Regions from separate parts of the Homo sapiens genome. Here region 2 is linked to region 1. Evidence: promoter capture Hi-C in 16 types of primary human blood cells and fetal thymus (Javierre and others, 2016). All regions are on one chromosome and are shown on one strand. The core of a region is centred on a gene start or on the middle of the fragment in contact, and the rest is flanking DNA. Distances in the headings are between cores, read along the strand shown. Region 1 holds the start of NFRKB (nuclear factor related to kappaB binding protein). Region 2 overlaps ZBTB44 (zinc finger and BTB domain containing 44).

The links. Contacts are between HindIII fragments. The CHiCAGO score rates a contact against its expected background, and 5 or more counts as called.
Region 2: a contact is called between a fragment that was not itself captured here and the fragment with the promoter of NFRKB in region 1, in 3 of 17 cell types (total B cells, activated CD4 T cells and M0 macrophages). The highest score is 6.2, in total B cells.

What each region holds. Positions count from the first base shown.
Region 1 is chr11:129,894,328-129,898,928 of GRCh38, forward strand. It overlaps NFRKB (nuclear factor related to kappaB binding protein), which reads right to left and starts at 1,251. Exons shown (of 27, transcript NM_001143835.2): 1 at 1,169-1,251; 2 at 32-111. RefSeq lists a silencer at 968-1,407. The HindIII fragment of the contact is 7,376 bases long and covers 1-4,601 here.
Region 2 is chr11:130,307,496-130,311,924 of GRCh38, forward strand. The region is part of intron 1 of ZBTB44 (zinc finger and BTB domain containing 44); the gene reads right to left. It also overlaps the pseudogene RN7SL778P. Among named protein-coding and RNA genes, the nearest start is that of ZBTB44, 5.2 kb to the right of the region's middle. The HindIII fragment of the contact is 2,125 bases long and covers 1,513-3,637 here.

The sequences.
Region 1 (4,601 bases), core at 1-2,500:
TTCCACAAACACCACATTCCACAAATCTTACCACGCCAGGTGTCAATTTCCTTATTTGAGGAAGGGAAGCTGGACCAGGTCCTCCCTCCCGTTATTTCCAATTCTGGAATCCTGCAATGAATAATCTCTAGATGAGTGACAGTGTGAATTACGTAATACAGGTACTTTTCTTTTCCAAAATTCTCCAATGATAAAGAACAGTTCTAGAATAACTATATGTAAAATGAAGCATGTTCCACTAAATTATTTCAAGCTCCCTTGAAGAGATTTCAGATCCATGTAAAGATATAGCAGAAACTTAAGCGTTGAGTCAAGTCACGTGGGTGGTCCCCAAGCAACTGTGCCCCCTCATCACCCTTCAGCACATGGTGAAATGACATCCTCATCATGCCTATGCCTAAATAAGTGAAGCGGGTGAGACAGCACATAGCATGTGAGTTTAACAAAACTTCAAAATAGCACCAAAAAAAAATTGCAGAAGCAACCTGATGCTCAGAATAAAACCTTCTTAACAGAACTGGCATAGAACAGACTATCAACTGCAAAGTCAGTGTCCTACCTGCCTCTTAGGAGGTCTCTATACAACTTGCTCACAAGTTTCTTCAGTGACGGTGCGTGTCTAGCTAAAGTTAATCTAGTCCACTGACAACCTTTGCACTGCCACTATTCTGAACAGAATCTCAAAATACCAAAACCAGGCAGCTGCCAGGGAGTTGGACCCCGGAAGCCAAGGATTTCCAGATCTTCGGGCGTTCTGAACCTCTTCACTAGACCACGAAGGCCTCTCGGCCTCTCATCACTGGCTTTCAGCACCTGGTCTAACTTTCCCCGCTGGACCCTCCCCAACGCAGAAGCTAAACCCTCGGGTCCTTCCAGAGCAACCGCCGGCTCCAAAGCCCTCAACTCTGCAGCAAATTCCCCTCCGGTGCCAGCCCGGCTGGCCCAAGGCCCGGGTCCAATCCTCAGAACTGCACGGCTCGGCCCCGCCCCTCCCCCACGCCGTGCCTAACCCTAACCCCCAGCCTCACGCGTCGCACCGCTCCCCACGCCCCGCTCCCGCTCCCCACGCCCACACGGGCAGCGACCTCGCGGACCCAGCCGCCCGCTCCCGCTCCCTCCACTCCCAGGAGACACTTCAACCCTTTCGCCGCCCCTTGCCCGCCCTCACCTGAACCGCGGGCGCCGGCCCCCTAACCCGCAGCCCTTCTCCGGCCGCGGGCTCCCAGACGCACTCGCTCCCGCAAGGAGTCTGGGTGCGCGCACGCTCTGGGCCTGCGCGGCGGAAGGGGCGGGGCAGCGCGGGGCGGGGCCTGGAGGGTGCCGGGGCGGGGCCACAGCGGGCGGGTCCTGGAGCGGCTCGGGAGAGCGGAGGGTCGGCGAGGGTGCCTGCGCGCGGCTGGGCCTGGGGATGCAGGTTCCAGCCTGCTTGCGCGTCTCACCTGATTTAGGAGCTTCCAGAGGCCCCAGACAGTGCCTGTCTTTGCCTGACCGCGAATCAAAGTTCCATAGCCCGTGAGCGAAGGCACGTCTATTAGCTGACGTTTGCAGAGAGCATACCCTGCCCCAGGCCCTATGCTAAGCACTTTCTACCCACCGTCTTTGTGCTGCAGCCCTGTGAGCTATGCACTATTAGTGCCCATTTTACAGTTGAGGACATGAGTAGAACGCGACCTCAGCCTGTGCTTCCGAGTTCCTTCATTCCTCCTTCCCGTCCCCGGGCCCTCGATGTCCAGAAAGAATGTAAACACATCGAAGGATCACATTTTAAAGTTAAACTCCATCATTTTCCTCTTCTTAGATATGAAGGCCCCTTTCCTGTTATTCACTGGGTTTTGCTTAGTACGGCTTCACACTACTTATTCCAGGTACTCCCAGCAGTGGCGCAGAGACCATCCTCAGTTCTGTGTGTGGATGGGACCAGAGAAGCCGGCCGGCCGAGCTAATGTTCTTCCCTTCCTGGAAGAGAGTAGTTTCCAAACAACCCGATCTCTGTTCCTCTACTGGCTCCACATATGCTCTAAGTTCCTGTTACACTGTTGAGAGGCTCTTGAATTAGAAACTATCGAGTATAAATGGCAGTGGAATATCACTCTATAGTTGTCACCGATATTTCCCTTACCTTGAGATTGTGACAAGACCAGAAAGAGAAAAAGAGTAAAAACAATGTAAACTATAATTTTTGATAGACTTTGTTTTTTTAAAGTGGTTTAAAGTTAACAAAATTGAGCAGAAAGATATTTTCCAAATACTCCCCGCCCCACCTCCCCACATGCATCGCCTTCCCTTTATCAACATCCTCTACCAGAGTGGTACATTTCTTAGAACTGATGAACCCGGCCCGGCCTGGTGGCTCACGCCTGTAATCCCAACACTTTGGGAGGCCGAGGCGGGCGGATCCCGAGATCAGGAGATCGAGACCATCCTGGCCAACATGGTGAAACCGCGTCTCTACTAAAAATACAAAAATTCGCCGGTCGTGGTGGCGGGCACCTGTAGTCCCAGCTACTCGGGAGCTGAGGCAGGAGAATTGCTTGAACCGGGGAGGCGGAGGTTGCAGTGAGCCGAGATTGAGCCATTGCACTCCAGCCTGTCGACAGAGCGAGACAGAGCGAGACTCCATCTCAAACAAAAGAACTGATGAACCTACATTGATACATCATTACCCACCATCACAGTATAATGCAGAGTAATTTCACTGTCTTAAAAATCATCTGTGCTCTGCATATTCATCTCTCCCTCTCCTCTACCCCTGGCAACCGCTGATCTTTTTGTCTCCATAGTTTTGCCTTTTTCCAGAGTGTCATCTAGTTGGAATTACATAGTATGTAGCCGTTTCAGATTGGCTTCCTTCCCGTAGTAACAGGCATTGAAGTTTCCTCCATGTCTTTTCATGGCTTGATAGCTCCTATTTCTTTTTAGTGCTGAATAATATTCCATTGTGTCGATATATCACAGTTTTATCTATTCGCTTACTGAAAGATATCTTCATTGTTTCCAGGTTTTGGCAATTATGAATCAAGCAATTATGAATCAAACAACCCAGAAATCCAACCACCCACTCCAGGCATCTTTGCATGAACGTATCAAAAACACCTCAGTCCCAATGCCCAGGATCTTCCCCTTTGAGAGGCTGAGATGGGTGGATCACTTGAGCCCAGGAATTGGAGACCAGCCTGGGCAATATGGTGAAACCCCATCTCTACTAAAATAAATACAAAAAATTAGCCAGGTGTGGTGGCACGTGCCTGTAGTCCCAGCTACTCAGGAGACTGAGGTGGGAGAATCGCTTGAGCCAGGGAGATCGAAGCTGCCGTGAGCTGTGATTGCACCACTGCACTCCAGCCTGGGCAACAGAGTGAAACCCTGTCTCAAAAAAGTAAAAAGAAAAATAAAACAACAAAGAATAAGTAAGACTTTTCCTTTACCTTCATTATTAAAGGTAATAATGATGTTCTTTCTTTATATAGATCTGAGGTTCTGACTTTTATCATTTTTCTTCTCTCTGAAAAACTTAACATTCTCTCCAAGGCAGGTCTACTGGCAACAAATCCCCTTTGCTTTTGGGGGATAATTTCATGGGCTACAGCATTCTAGGTTAGACACTGCTTTTTTCTCTCAACACCTTAAACATTTCATTCCACTCGCTCCTTGTGTGCACAGTTTCTGAAGAAAAGTCATTTTTTGTTCATTTGTTTTTTGGTTTTGAAGGATTTTTTTGCATTTATCCTGTGTGTCCTCTGAGCTTCCCGGATCTGTGGTTTCATCTTCCATATTGATTTGGGGAAATAATCAATCATTATTGCTTCAAATATTTCTTCTGTTCCTTTCTCTGTCTTCTGCTAGTATTCCCATGAGGCATAGTTATACCTTTTTTTCATCATCTCACAGTTTTTGGATATTGTTTGTCTTTCAGTTATAGAGGTTTCTATTGAGATATCCTTAAGCTCAGCAATTCTTTCCTAAGATGTGTCTAGTCTACCATTTAGCCTCTCACAGCTACTCTTCATGTTTTTTTTTTTTTTTTTTTTTTTTTTGAGGTGGAGTCTTGCACTGTGACCCAGGCTGGAGTGCAGAGGCGCAATCTCAGCTCTCTGCAACCTCCACCACCCAGGTTCAAGCGATTCTCCCACTTCAGCCTCCTGAGTAGCTGGGATTACAGGCACCCACCACCACGCCTGGCTAATTTTTGTATTTTTAGTAGAAGCAGGGTTACACCGTGTTGGCCAGGCTGGTCTTGAACTCCTGACCTCAAATGATCCACCCACTTCAGCCTCCCAAAGTGCTGGGTTTACAGGCATGAGCTGCCGTGCCCAGCCTACTCTTCATTTTTTATCTCTAGCATTTTAGCTCATTCTTAGGATTTCCATCTCTCTCCTTACATTGTTTGTTATTGCTTGTTGTCTACTTTCTCTAGTAGAGCCCTTTTCATATTAATCACAGTTGTTTCAAATTCCCAGTCTGTGAATTCCAACATCTCGGCCATATCTAATTCTGGGTCTGATGTTTGCTCTCTTTCTTCAAACTTGTGTCTTTTGCCTCTTAGTATGCCTTGTAATGTTTTTCTTGATAGCTGGTCATGATGTGCCAGGTAGAGAGAGCTT
Region 2 (4,429 bases), core at 1,325-3,824, 410 kb after region 1:
TTACTCTACTTTTAAAATGCCTTTTAAAGTAGTATCTAAATGCAGTTTCTGAAGCAAGGGGTCAGAAACTCCCGCACCTATGAGAAAGGAAAATGATATACAATCATGCGTGGCATGTGTCCCTCAATGATAGACCACAAATACCACAACCGTCCCATATTATAATACCATATTATTTTTGAGACAAGAGTCTCATTCTGTCGCTCAGGCTGGAGGGCAGTGGTGCAATCTGGGCTCACTGCTGGAGGAATCACATTACCTGACTTCAAACTATACTACAAGGCTATAGTTACCAAAACAGCATGGTACTGGTGTAACCTTCCAGGTTCAAGCAATTCTCCTGTCTCAGCCTCCCAAGTAGCTGTGACTACAGGTGCATGCCACCACACTTGGCTAATTTTTGTATTTTTAGTAGAGACAGGGTTTCACTATATTGGTCAGGCTGGTCTCGAGCTCCTGACCTTAGGTGAGCCACCCGCCTCCGCCTCCCAAAGTACTGGGATTACAGGCATGAGCCACCGTGCGCAACCCTGTAATACCATATTTTTACTGCACCTTTTCTAGGTTTAGATATGCTTAGATATACATATACTTTCCACTGCATTACAAAAGCCTACAGCATTCAGTACAGTAACATGCTGTACAGATACGTGGCCTAGGAGCAACAGGCTATACCATATAACCTAGATGTAGAGTAGGCCATACCATCAAGTTTTGTCTAAGTACACTTTATGATGTTCATACAATGACACAATCGCCTAACGACGCATTTCTCAGAACATATCCCCGTTGCAATCTCTGAGGTTGTTACAGCATCAGTCATGTAGTTCCGTATTCATGGTGACTGAAAATTTATTCAATTTTTATGACTTGTTACATTTAGTTGTGAGGTGGAGCAAAGCAGCTAAGTGCTAACTCTAAACAGCCTTGAATTTGAAACCTGGGTCGGCCACTTATTGTGATACTCTAGGCAAGTCATTTAATGCTTTTAGATACCAGTTTCCTTACTGCAAAATAAGATACTAGTAGCAATGTCAAAGTGTTAATGTGAGATTTAAATAAGATAATGTATAAAATGTTTAGCACAGCTGGCATACAGAAAGGGCATAACAAATGTTAGCATTATTATCAACACTGTATTAGTTCATTCAGCCTACACAACAGGTTCTAGCTGCTACATGGCTACACATACCCATGCAACTGTTTATAGTATTCTTCTTCATCACCTTATATGTTCTAAGAACCTTGGGTAGTGTATGTATTTTACTGAGATTAAAGACAGAATGAGGGTGAATGGGTCCAAGTGCAAGCATTCTCCATCTTCCCACTCCACTCCCTAATGGAACTAGATGTTCACTCTGTTATTGAAAGCAGTGATTGTGGAGTCCTAGTAAGGGAAAAGGAGTCAGGCGGGTGGGAAAAGGGTACAGCAAAAAGAAAAAGCAGATAAGGTATAAGTCTGCCTTTCTTCATGGTCCAAGACACACAGCCCTCTTGCACAAATAACTCACAAGCTTTCTGCACTCAACTTATCACCAGACTCTCAGCTGACAGAAAAATGCAAGTTAGCTCACTGCAACCTTGGCCTTATCAGTACTGCACATAGCCCTCTCTGCAGCACACAGCAGAAGCATCATCCTGTAACATGCCCAGCAAGCCATTGTCTCCTGGCAGTCAGCTTCTCTCTTGCTGATCTGCCCGTTGCACCCTTGCAACCAACCTACTTTCATACTTTCTCTAATAAATCTGCCCTTCTTTACCTACAATTGCCTTGGTAATTCCTTTACCACCTGCAACGCCAGCCTCAGCTAGTGTGACCTATGACAGTGAGGATGAACACAGGAAAACACACTACAGGCACAGTTTTGCTTTTCAGCACTTGGTTGACAGGAGGCTGATAAACTGCCTAATTGTGCTCTGCTTACTTTAGATGAACACTGCTCCCTCTTAAAACTTCATTTGAGATCACATAATTATGAATTTATATCAAATTTGGTCCAACCCAAACAAAATGTGTTATCTCCACTGATCACATATCCAAATGCCTTTTTATCTGTACATAGCATATTTATGCCAGTTTTGTTGTAGATGGAGTCACCTGGGCGCAGTGGCTCACGTCTGTAATTCCAGCACTTTAGGAGGCCAGGATTACACTTCAGGAGGCCGAGGCAGGTGAATCACTTGAGGTCAGGAGCTCGAGACCAGCCTGGACAACATGGTGAAACCCCATCTCTACTAATACAAAAATTAGCTGGGCGTGGTGGTACATGCCTGTAATCCCAGCTACTAGGGAGGCTGAGGCAGGAGAATCGCTTGAACCCAGGGGGCAGAGGTGGATTGCAGTGAGCTGAGATCGAGCCACTGCATTCCAGCCTGGGCAACAGAGGGCGACTGCATCTCAAAAAAAAAAAAAAAAAGTTAAAAAAGTAGATGGAGTCATAAAACCTCTACCAACTACCTGCCTCTTTAAAGACATGATTTAAGTAAAAGCTACAGTTCTATTTTTATGGAATTTTTATTTAAAAATATGGTATCTAGGCCTACGGCTACAGGCTTACATGTGTAATCTTAGCACTTTGGGAGGCCAAGGCAGCAGGATCACTTGAGCTCAGGAGTTTGAGAGATCAGCCTGGACAACATAATGAGAATCTATCACTATTTTAAATCACTATTTAAGAAAAAGAGCTGGGCGCAGTGGTGTGTGCCTGTAGTCCCAGCTACTCAAGAGGCTGAGGCAGGAAGATCCCTTGAGCCCAGAAGTTCTGGACTGTAGTATCCTATGCCGATTGGGTGTCTGCACTAAATTAGGCATCAACATGGTGACCTCCAGGGAGTGAGGGACCACCAGGTTGCCTAATGAGAGAAGTGGCCCAGGTCAGAAACAGAGCAGGTCAAAACTCCCGTGCTTATCAGTAGTAGGATCACATCTGTGAATAGCCACTGCACTCCAGCCTGAGCAACACAGTAAATCCCCCGTCTTTAAAAAAAAAAAAAAGTAAGCATGGAATCCACTTCTCTGCTAACTTCTAAAAACTAGTCTTAGTTCTCTTTGCCAGAGGAAGCAGAATCTAATTTTAAAATTTAAAAGTACTTCTATGTGGCTTCACATAACATAATTTGTCTATTGCTAATTCTTCTGAGCTTGATGTGAGAATGTAGTAGATACTAAAAGGAGTATGGTAAAGGTAAACAATACTTCATCTTTAAAAACTAATTTTAATGAGGTTTATCCAAATATAGTTTTTTTTTGTTTTGTTTTGCTTTTGAGATGGAGTCCCGCTTTGTCACCCAGGCTGCAGTGCAATGGCGCAATCTTGGCTCACTGCAACCTCCCCGGTTCAAGCAATTCTCCTGCCTCAGCTTCCCAAGTAGCTGAGACTACAGGCATGTGCCACCATGCCCGGCTAATCCAAGTATAGTTTTAAAACATTATTTTGACTTCTACACTATGTACATACTTTACATATTCAAAAATAAAATCCTAAGTAAAAACTGAAACCTATGAACCATATCAAATTGGTAGCATAACCAGAGAAAAGTATTTCAAGTGACTTTTGAACACAGTACTCATTATACATTCTTCATGCAATATAGTCTAAATACGAAAATAAATGCAAAGAAATCTTAAACTACATGAAGCTTATTGGTATTAGCAATACCAGCACTATAATTTTAAAATGATTTTATGTATACAGTGGGAGAAAGCAAATAAGTTTATTATTTTTTTTGGAGACAGGGTCTCACTCTGTCATCCAGGCTGAAGTGCAGTGGGGTATGAACATGGCTCACTGCAGCCTCAACCTCCTGGGCTCAAGTGATCCACCTGCTTCAGCCTCCTGAGCAGCTGGGAACACAGGCACACACCACCACGCCTGGCTAATTTTTTTATTTTTTATAGAGATGGGGTCTCATCATGTTGCCCAGGCTGGCCTTGAACTCCTGGGCTCAAGCAATCCTTCCACCTCGGCCTTTCAACGTCCTGGGATTACAGGCATGAGCCACTGTGCTTGGCCAGTTTATTAACTGTATTAAAAACCAAGATTTTCATTTAAGACAAGAGACAAATATAGAGTCAAGGAAGAAAAAGTCTGCTTGTTAAATAGGAATTGGAATATCACTCTGAACTCATGATTAAACAAGCAAAAACCTTTTTCTTAGTTCTCTCCTCTCAAAGCACCTAGAAGCAATGATACTGCAGCAGCAACGAATATGCCAAACATCCAGAACTTGGTTTCTATATACGATTTCTCATTAAAAAGAACCAAGACTCCCTGGATAAACAGCTCTTTCCAGAGGTGAGCAAAGAAAGTATAAGATAAACCCTGGAGTAACTCGTGTCAGAAAGCACTCCAAGATTAATGGGGAGCAGGGGTGTCAAGACACACAATAGTCAGCTTGAAATGGTTCCTACTGACCAAATCTGGGACAA